Linked DNA regions of Homo sapiens: all the other regions are linked to region 2. The links are contacts of gene promoters, found by promoter capture Hi-C in blood cells and fetal thymus (Javierre and others, 2016). All regions are on one chromosome and are shown on one strand. The core of a region is centred on a gene start or on the middle of the fragment in contact, and the rest is flanking DNA. Distances in the headings are between cores, read along the strand shown. Region 1 overlaps LOC101927281 (a long non-coding RNA gene). Region 2 holds the start of RORB (RAR related orphan receptor B). Region 3 has its middle 44 kb from the start of ANXA1.

What was found. The method cuts DNA at HindIII sites, captures the fragments that hold promoters and counts their contacts. A CHiCAGO score of 5 or more calls a contact.
Region 1: a contact is called between a fragment that was not itself captured here and the fragment with the promoter of RORB in region 2, in 3 of 17 cell types (megakaryocytes, fetal thymus and total B cells). The highest score is 7.1, in megakaryocytes.
Region 3: a fragment that was not itself captured here is called in contact with the fragment with the promoter of RORB in region 2 in 1 of 17 cell types (monocytes); the score reaches 5.0 in monocytes.

What each region holds. Positions count from the first base shown.
Region 1 is chr9:73,261,089-73,263,788 of GRCh38, reverse strand. The region is part of intron 1 of LOC101927281 (a long non-coding RNA gene); the gene reads right to left. Among named protein-coding and RNA genes, the nearest start is that of ANXA1, 110 kb to the right of the region's middle. The HindIII fragment of the contact is 1,010 bases long and covers 820-1,829 here.
Region 2 is chr9:74,495,888-74,498,587 of GRCh38, reverse strand. It overlaps RORB (RAR related orphan receptor B), which reads right to left and starts at 1,253. Exons shown (of 10, transcript NM_006914.4): 1 at 605-1,253. The coding sequence starts at 611. RORB-AS1 (RORB antisense RNA 1) reads left to right here and starts at 35. Exons shown (of 5, transcript NR_125791.1): 1 at 35-346. RefSeq lists silencers at 1,021-1,315, 1,220-1,409, 1,405-1,617. The HindIII fragment of the contact is 5,400 bases long and covers 1-2,700 here.
Region 3 is chr9:73,194,324-73,197,023 of GRCh38, reverse strand. No RefSeq gene overlaps it. Among named protein-coding and RNA genes, the nearest start is that of ANXA1, 44 kb to the right of the region's middle. The HindIII fragment of the contact is 1,719 bases long and covers 583-2,301 here.

The DNA.
Region 1 (2,700 bases), core at 75-2,574, 1.2 Mb after region 2:
GAGGAGAACTAAAAAGGTATATAAAGTTTATATTTTACTTAAAAAACAAAGTAAACATTAGGAAGACACATTGTTTCTCATCTCTACTGTTTTTTATTTAAACCCTTGATAACATCTTTATTTTCTTCCTGTCTTATCTTTTAACATTTATATTGTACAAACTTAATTCATGGTTTGGCATCCAAGTTCAAGGTCAGGTCTACTTTTGATGTATTATTTATCATTCCACATATGTTGTTTATTCCATTTTCTTAACGACTATAACCCTATTTTATGATGAAATTTGGTACTCAATCAAAAAAATTGTTCTATATACTTTAATTGTTTTGTTATAACTAGTAAGTAAACTCTGAGTATTTTACTTTTTTGGTATCTACCTCTACAGTACATGTGTTGTTTAGCCTTGTGACTGATAGCTAAACAGTACTAAATGCATAATTGTGTATGTATTTTATATACAAAATTAAAAAAATAATAACAGCTTTTAAAAATATCAATTTAGAGAACAGAAGAGAGCTTTTTTTCCCAATATATCCCACAATATTTGGAGAAGGCATCTGCTAAAGCACAGGATTGGCCTGCAATAAATTCTTAATGCCTGTTTATTGATTTTGATTGATATTTAGAGTCTGTCACAGCAGCCAGACATCTCCATGATGTTCTGCCTATATAACCTCAGAGGGTCACTTTGCTGAATGCCTGAAGAAGTTATTCCCAGGACACAGCACTCCAGATAAAATCTTTAGTATGTTAGCATCACTTTTAAAATTTCAAATCATGAAAGTAAAATAAGTTTAAAAAAACATAAACAAATAAGCTTAATAATTCACCTCCACAACACGCTACTTTTTAATTTGGGAAAACATTTATTTTGCACGGTGTTTCAGTTAAATGAGTGGATGAGAGAGAGAAAAATTGGATGCATTTTAGCTTGTAGCTTACATTTAAGAAAATCCTTAGACAATAATCTATTTAGGTAATAGATTAGTCAATAATCTAGTAGGTATTGCATACTATATGTAATGTGGTAAATACTTGACTATTCACATTAATGGAAATGATTAAAGGCAGACCATTAGAATCAGTTTACTTTGGTTTGGAGTGTATGTTGATTCATGTGTTCAAGTTTCTCAACCTCAGCACTATTGACATTTGGACTAGATATTCTTCCTTGTGGGAGGCTGTCTGTTACATGGTAGGATGTTTAGCAGCATCCCTGGTGTCTACCCACTAAATGCCAGTAGCATATACCTTAGATGTGACAACGAAAAAGGCTTCCAAACGTTGCCCAGTATTTCCTAGAAGGGATTTGGGGAACAGATCACCTCTGGCTGAGAACCACTGATATATATGAATATAACTTTGTTTTGTTTTATAATTTAAATATTTACATTTCCCTTCAAAGGATAAAGTCATTCTGAAGACCTGACTGACACAAGTTGACTATTTTTCATACCTTACTAATGTAACCCAAATAAAACTGGATTGTTTAGATGGTTACAAATTAAACAAACAAATTCCATTTCCCACAAACCTTGTAAAGAATCGTAAACATTTACTGAAGGGGTTTAAAGGACACTAATTAAAGTTTCCTGAAAGGCTTTTAGGATGAATAATGATGTTAATAAGGTAGATTTTGAGATATTTGTCTCTTGATTGGCTGAGTTCTATTTAGAAATTCTGAAGAACCATGTTGTTCTCTCTACATACTGAAAGTTAGCCTCTCCCGGCTTCAAGATCCTAACACAGTTGCATAATGCGAGTATAACTCCAAAATGGTTATAGGTTCTAGCTACGGGAAAGACTAAAATTATTAGCCATTGCAAGCTTAATAAAGTAAATGTACTTGAAATTTGTTCTTACGAGAAGACACCGTTCTGCATCAAGTCATTTACTCTACATATCTCCCAGTTACAATTCCATCTAAATGCATTCAACATGCTGTTTTCTACAACTTAAAAATGGTAACCCACCAATATTTTTAAAATAAAGGCCCAATTGTTAATTTAATATGCCTTCTGAGCTTTAATATCTTTCTAATTGAACAATTTAAGGTTTGGGCTCTCATTGTAATTCTTTATATGAAGTGCAAGGAGATTTTAGACCTCACTCTTGAAGTATTGATTATTATTGAACTCTTTTTAATCTCATTGAAAAAACTGCTCTTTTCAGGACTCTTCAGAGCTTTGATTAACTTTACATCTGCCTTTGATTCTATGGATATGTTTTTTAAGCTCTGTGAGTTTAAGATAAGTCTCCAATTATTAATATGCTTGCAAAATCTACATCCACGGTATCATTGCCAGAATCAAGCAAGACAGCAATTTAAATGCATAAGAATAAAATGAGTTTTGGACCTTCTTTTTATTTTTATCTAGATATTTTTATATTCTTTTTAAAGAAATTGGATCCTTGCCTACTTGCAACAGTAAAGAGGAAAATAATTACCCTTCTCTATAAGGGTCATCTGGATCAAGATAGACCTTAGAAGAATTATAAAGTCAATAGTTCCTATGAAGAAGAGGCCATTAACATTAATTGTGATGGCATAGGTACCTATTATTTTAGTAGGGCTAAATAATTCTCTAATATATAAGTGGCTAATATTAACTAATTCCATGCATCAGGGCACTTTGTTCTGTTTTTGTCAATAATATTTTGAATTTTGTCAATAACATAAACATATCAAGAGGTCACTGT
Region 2 (2,700 bases), core at 4-2,503:
GCCGCAGAACTGTTTCCTCAGCCGCGTGCCGGGGAACTAACTGTTTCCTCAGCCGCGTCCAGCCTCGCAGCACTGCTCTTCTGCTTGCTACTCCAGCGAAGGGACATGCCTGCTGGCCAGGACGCTTAGTGGGCCTCGTAACCTGGCGAGTGTGTGCCCGCGCGTGTCCACCCTGCCCCCGGCCGGTGCGCCCCGCGCGCCCAAACCCGGCCGGCGACCACTGCGCGCCGGGCGCTTCCAAACTGCTCCTGTCCAGAGGCATCCCTCTTTCGGCTTTCTCCATCCCGCGTCCGCTTCCGCACCCGAGAGCGACAAGCAAAAAAGATTCAGTGCAACTCAAGGACTGGTAAGAACCAACTAGCCTGTCTCCCCTCTCCAAAAAAGCGCCCTCCCGCGTCCCTCCAGAACTCCCGAAAGACATCAACACCTTCCCGCAACTTTCTACGCCCAGGCCATTTGCAGCCCCACCTGCGAGAGCGAATTCGGGGAACTGCGCCTGGGCAACCTCTTTCCCTTTCTGCTGGGTGCCCTCCCCTCCCCCATCTCCCCGTCTGGCTGGAGTTGGCCGGACTCGGGGAGCCTCGGTGCCCGCAGACTCGCTTACCTCGCATGGTGTGGCCGCTCTCCCGCTCCGCGTAGTCATGAAGCTGCTCCCAGCCCGAACCCCGGAGAGCCCAAAAATCCCGCTCAGCACGAGTGAAGAAGGTGGTCGGCGAAGAGCTGCTCTGCCGAGAAAACCATCCCTTTAGGCGGACGCCGTGGCTGCAGGGTGACGTTTGCCGCCGCCGCCGCTATGTTAACAGTTTTGATGTTGGTGGTGACTGTTTTGATGATTGTTTGTTTGTTTGTTTGTTTTCAGGAAGGGTGAAAAAAAAATGTTCTGGCTGTCTGGTGCCTGGGTTTTGTTTTGGTTTTGTTTTTCTTTTTCTTTCTCTCCAATGTGCTTGCTTTTTAAAAAATGCCACCGCCTCCGGCTCAGAAGATTTCTTTTGTGATCACTTGGACTGAGGAGGAGGAGGAAGGGCAGCAGCAGGAGGAGGAGTTGGTGGTGGTTTTGTTAGTTACAAAGAAGAGGGAGAAGGAACAAGGGGGAAAAAAGGAAACAGAAAGAAAAGAAAGAAAGGCGGTGTGGATGGCAGAGCATGTGCGTTTTCACATGACATCTGTGCCTGTTAGCGGATCCACAATGTGAATTTTCACTGTTCAGTTACAGGGAGGAAGGGAGCAGCGAGAGAGAAAGAGAGGGGAGAGATGGAGAGAGAGCGCTGAGAGGGGCTTATACGCGAGGGCGGGCTTGGCCGCGACTTCCAGGCCCCGCCTGCTGTCAGCGCAGCCGCCAATCAGAGCCCAGCAGCGCCTGGAGAGGCTGGGACCGCGGGGAGGGGACGTGGTGGAGGCGGGGGGTGGGGCGGGGGCTGGGGACCAGGGAGTCCGAGGTGGCCGGGGCTGCGACGGGGAATTCGAGACTGTCCGAACTGGGCAGAGAAGAAGGGCCGACCGGGAGAGTCGGGCAGATCCGCAGGTGACAGGCACTTCCGACTCCAGCAGAGAAGGGGACACTGATCACGGAAAACCTTCGGAGGCAAGAGACGCGGGGCTCCCCGGGTTTCACGTTCGGTCCCTGTCTCGCAACCCCCGCGGGCCCGGCAGAGTTAGTTTTGAATTTATGGCAGCGCTTTGCCGAGCGCTATTTGGGTAAACTTCGGTCTCCGGCGGGGGTTTCCGTGGGCAGGTGGTTTGGGTGTTGGTGGTAGAATAATGCAAACCCACTTTCATCACTTTTAGCACAACTAAAATGCAGTCCCATGGAAGTAGCTGTCCCCTTCCTTTAAAAACGTCCGTCAGATGCTCCCTGACCCTCTTCTAAAAAAAAAAAAAAAAGAAAGAAAGAAAGAAAAAAACGTGTATATGTTCTTTTGTCTGGGAAATTGATTTTTATTAGCATTTGGAGACTCCCCTGGCGATGGACTACAGGACTGAAGGAGAACAGCTCAAATTGGCGGTGTAGCCACCTTACTAATTCAAGAGAAATGGCTGTTGCTAGAAGGTGTGATTGCAGGGTGCTCTTTAGAAAGGTTTTAGAAGGAAGACATTGTTAACTTTAGTTAGAGGCGATTGGTAACTGAACATAGATAAACTTACTTGTATTCCTTAGGTGAAAATTGTCATCTATGACCATTTATTTGTATTTTGATAAAAATCTAATACATATATCCAAACTGTTCCTTTGCAAGTTTTTCCAACTCAGTTGACAAAATAAGCATATAGATGATTACATCTACTTCCTTCCCAATAGTAGGGAACTTCTTAAATACTTGAGTTAATTGAACACCCTAAAAGATTGGGAGGTGAAAATATTTGCCTCATTCACTCAGTCTTGAGGCTGGGAGATGTCTACTCATTAGCATACCTGTTGGCACAGCAGGCCTCATCATCATTTAAGTATCCAAATAATTTGATTTTTGACTGGTATTTATTCATGATATGTCATGTAACACAAAGTACAATGTAGAATTGGCAGTTATTTAGTTAATTAGGTCGCTCTACACTGCCAAGTAGTTTTTTCCTTCCTGATTAAATGAAAAATGAATTATCTGCTGAATTTTCACCAGTATTAAATTGACGTAGCCCTGCTATATGCCATCCCATTTGCAAACCAATGTGTAATTTAGGAAAATTTTAGTATTAAGAGTGAAAGTT
Region 3 (2,700 bases), core at 193-2,692, 1.3 Mb after region 2:
AGAGGCTCAGATTTTCAGGACATGTTTATTCCTGTTTTATATTCATATAAAAGCAAAAAGTAAAGTTCAAATTGATAAAATAATCTAATAATGCTATGGCAATCAAAAATACTGCACTCTCTCCTCTTGTCTGAATAGTATTAGAATTATATATTTTAGATTCTACTGTAAAGTAAGCAAGCAAATTAGATAGCAGTATTGTGTCAATGTAAATTTCCTGATTTTGATAATTTTACTATGATTTTGTAAGAAAACATGGTGTTTTCAGAAAACACACGTTTAACTATTCAGTGGCACAGAGCCATCATGCCTAAAAGTTACTTTTCAATAGGTCAAAAATGTGTGTGTGCGTGTATGTTGTGTGTGTGTATGTGTGTGTGTGTGTGGAAAAAGGACAGAAAAGGAGTAAAATATTAAAATTTGAGGATCTGTGTAAAAAGTATATCAGAATTCTTTGTTCTATTTTTACAACATTTCTGTAAGTCTGAAATTCTTCAAAATAAAAAAAAAAATACAAACAGTGTTTGAAAAATCATACTGAGCATGGTTCCTGGCACATAAATTCTTCATGAGTGTCAAGCTTAGATTCATAGTTTTCACTGAAATTATGAATTCACCACTTACGTTTTAGTTCTTACATTGCTATAAAGAAATACCTGCAACTAGGTAATTTTTAAAGAAAAGAGGTTTAATTGGTTTACGCAGTTCCACAGGCTGTACAGGAAGCATGGCACTGGCATCTGCTTAGTGTCTGGAGAGGATTCGGGAAACTTACAATGATGACAGAAGGCGAAGGAGAAACAGGCACGTCTTACGTGGCAGGAGCAAGAGGGAGTGAAGGAGGAGGTGCCACACACTTCTAAATGACCAGATCTCACGAGAACGCACACACTGTCATGAGGATGGTACCAACAGGATGGTGCTAAACCATTCATGAGAAATCATCCCCATGATCCAATCACCTCCCACCAGGCCCTGCCTCCAACACTGGGGATTACAATTTGACAAGCGATTTGGTGGGGATACAGATCCAAACAATATCAACTTGATATGACAAAACAAAGTAAATAAATCTCTGCCATTCAACTTTTAATTCACAAGGTAAATTTTTAATTCACAAAGTAAAAAGAAAAATATCTGTGTGTTATATTTAGGTTAGAAAAGACACTTCACAATGATGCTTATAAACCTTCAGTTTTTTAGTTTTTTAAAAAACTGACCTGAATACAGAGTTTTCCTTCCCTTCTTCTTACATACCCAAGAAGAATAAATTATTCACAATGATAAAGGCAAGAAAATGTACCATCAACCAGCCACTTAAATGTTGAATTTCTATAATATGGAAAGCTGATAAAGTCCTGCTGATGGATAAATTAGAATTTAGAAAACAACACGAAACATGTGCTTGAGAAGGCAGAAAAAAAAGGTGAGAGCAGGGGTTACTGTCAGAGTAATAAGTAAAAGGCTGAACACAGAATGCATTAGCCTCCATGTTTGCAGCTGGCGGAGATATATACACCCAAAAAATGGGATGGAAGGAGAAGGTGGACTTATAGATGTCTATTCAGCCATAGAAGGGAAGGCTAAGAGATTGCAAAGCTGCTGTCCAGGGGCCTTGATGTTATTAAGCCTATTGGTCAACCCTGCAACCATGCACTTCTAGATCTCTTGCTATGAATAGCAAATAAATTCTTACCCACATAAGCCATAATGATAATCAAGTTTTCTTTTATCTGGAACCAAAAATATTCCAGAACTGACCCAACATTTAGATGTGTAAATGCAATTATCAGAAAAACTCAAAATAACTATGTAATTAACAAATAGTAGTAGGAGTAAGTAGGGCCAGAAAGATTTTGTAAGAAAGATACTATCTTCATCTTTTGCAATAGGGCTGTTAATATATATTTTTAAAAGTTAATGAATTAAGAAAGAAATTTACATGTTTGTAGTAAGAATTACTGAATTGAGCTACCTATAAAAGTAAAAATACGGATTTTTCAAATGGATTTACCTGGGACCATGGTACTTTCTCAGGTAATGGAAAAATGAATTTAAAAAAATGACATATGCATTTCAAATAAAATAATACAAATGATATATGTTGAGACTATGAGATGAGGGAAGATATAGAATATGGTATCTGATATCATTTTCTTAATTTAGTAACATGTTTATATTTATTTGTACATATATTTCCTTATGGCATTTATAAAGAAATACATAAAATTATTGAAAATATTTTCTAGTATGTGTTTTGCAATTTTTTCTCAAGAATAGACAAAAGAAAATCAAAAAGCTTTTTTCTTCACACAGCTGACAAAGAATAAAATGTTCACAATGGAAAGAAAATATATGGTCTTTGGGAGCAGATTTTTTAAATCCCTGGAAAGCAGTAACTAAATAATTGTCTGATTTCATATGCTATTAATAGGTGATTTTTCCCATCTGCCTTACATTTCCATTTGCAGTTATCTCTTTTCATGTCTTCTCATGGTGTCAGGTTCACACCCTCAATTTGATGTTAGTGATTTTAAACAATTGAAAATCACTCTTGAGGGTGTGACCTGGCTTTGGACAATCTGCAATAAATCCAAGAGTCACAGCACCAGGAGACAAGCAGCGAAGAGTATTGTATTTAAAAGCAAGAATCTTTAAAAAAAGAACCAAATGGAAATTTCAAAGATGTCAAATATTGCA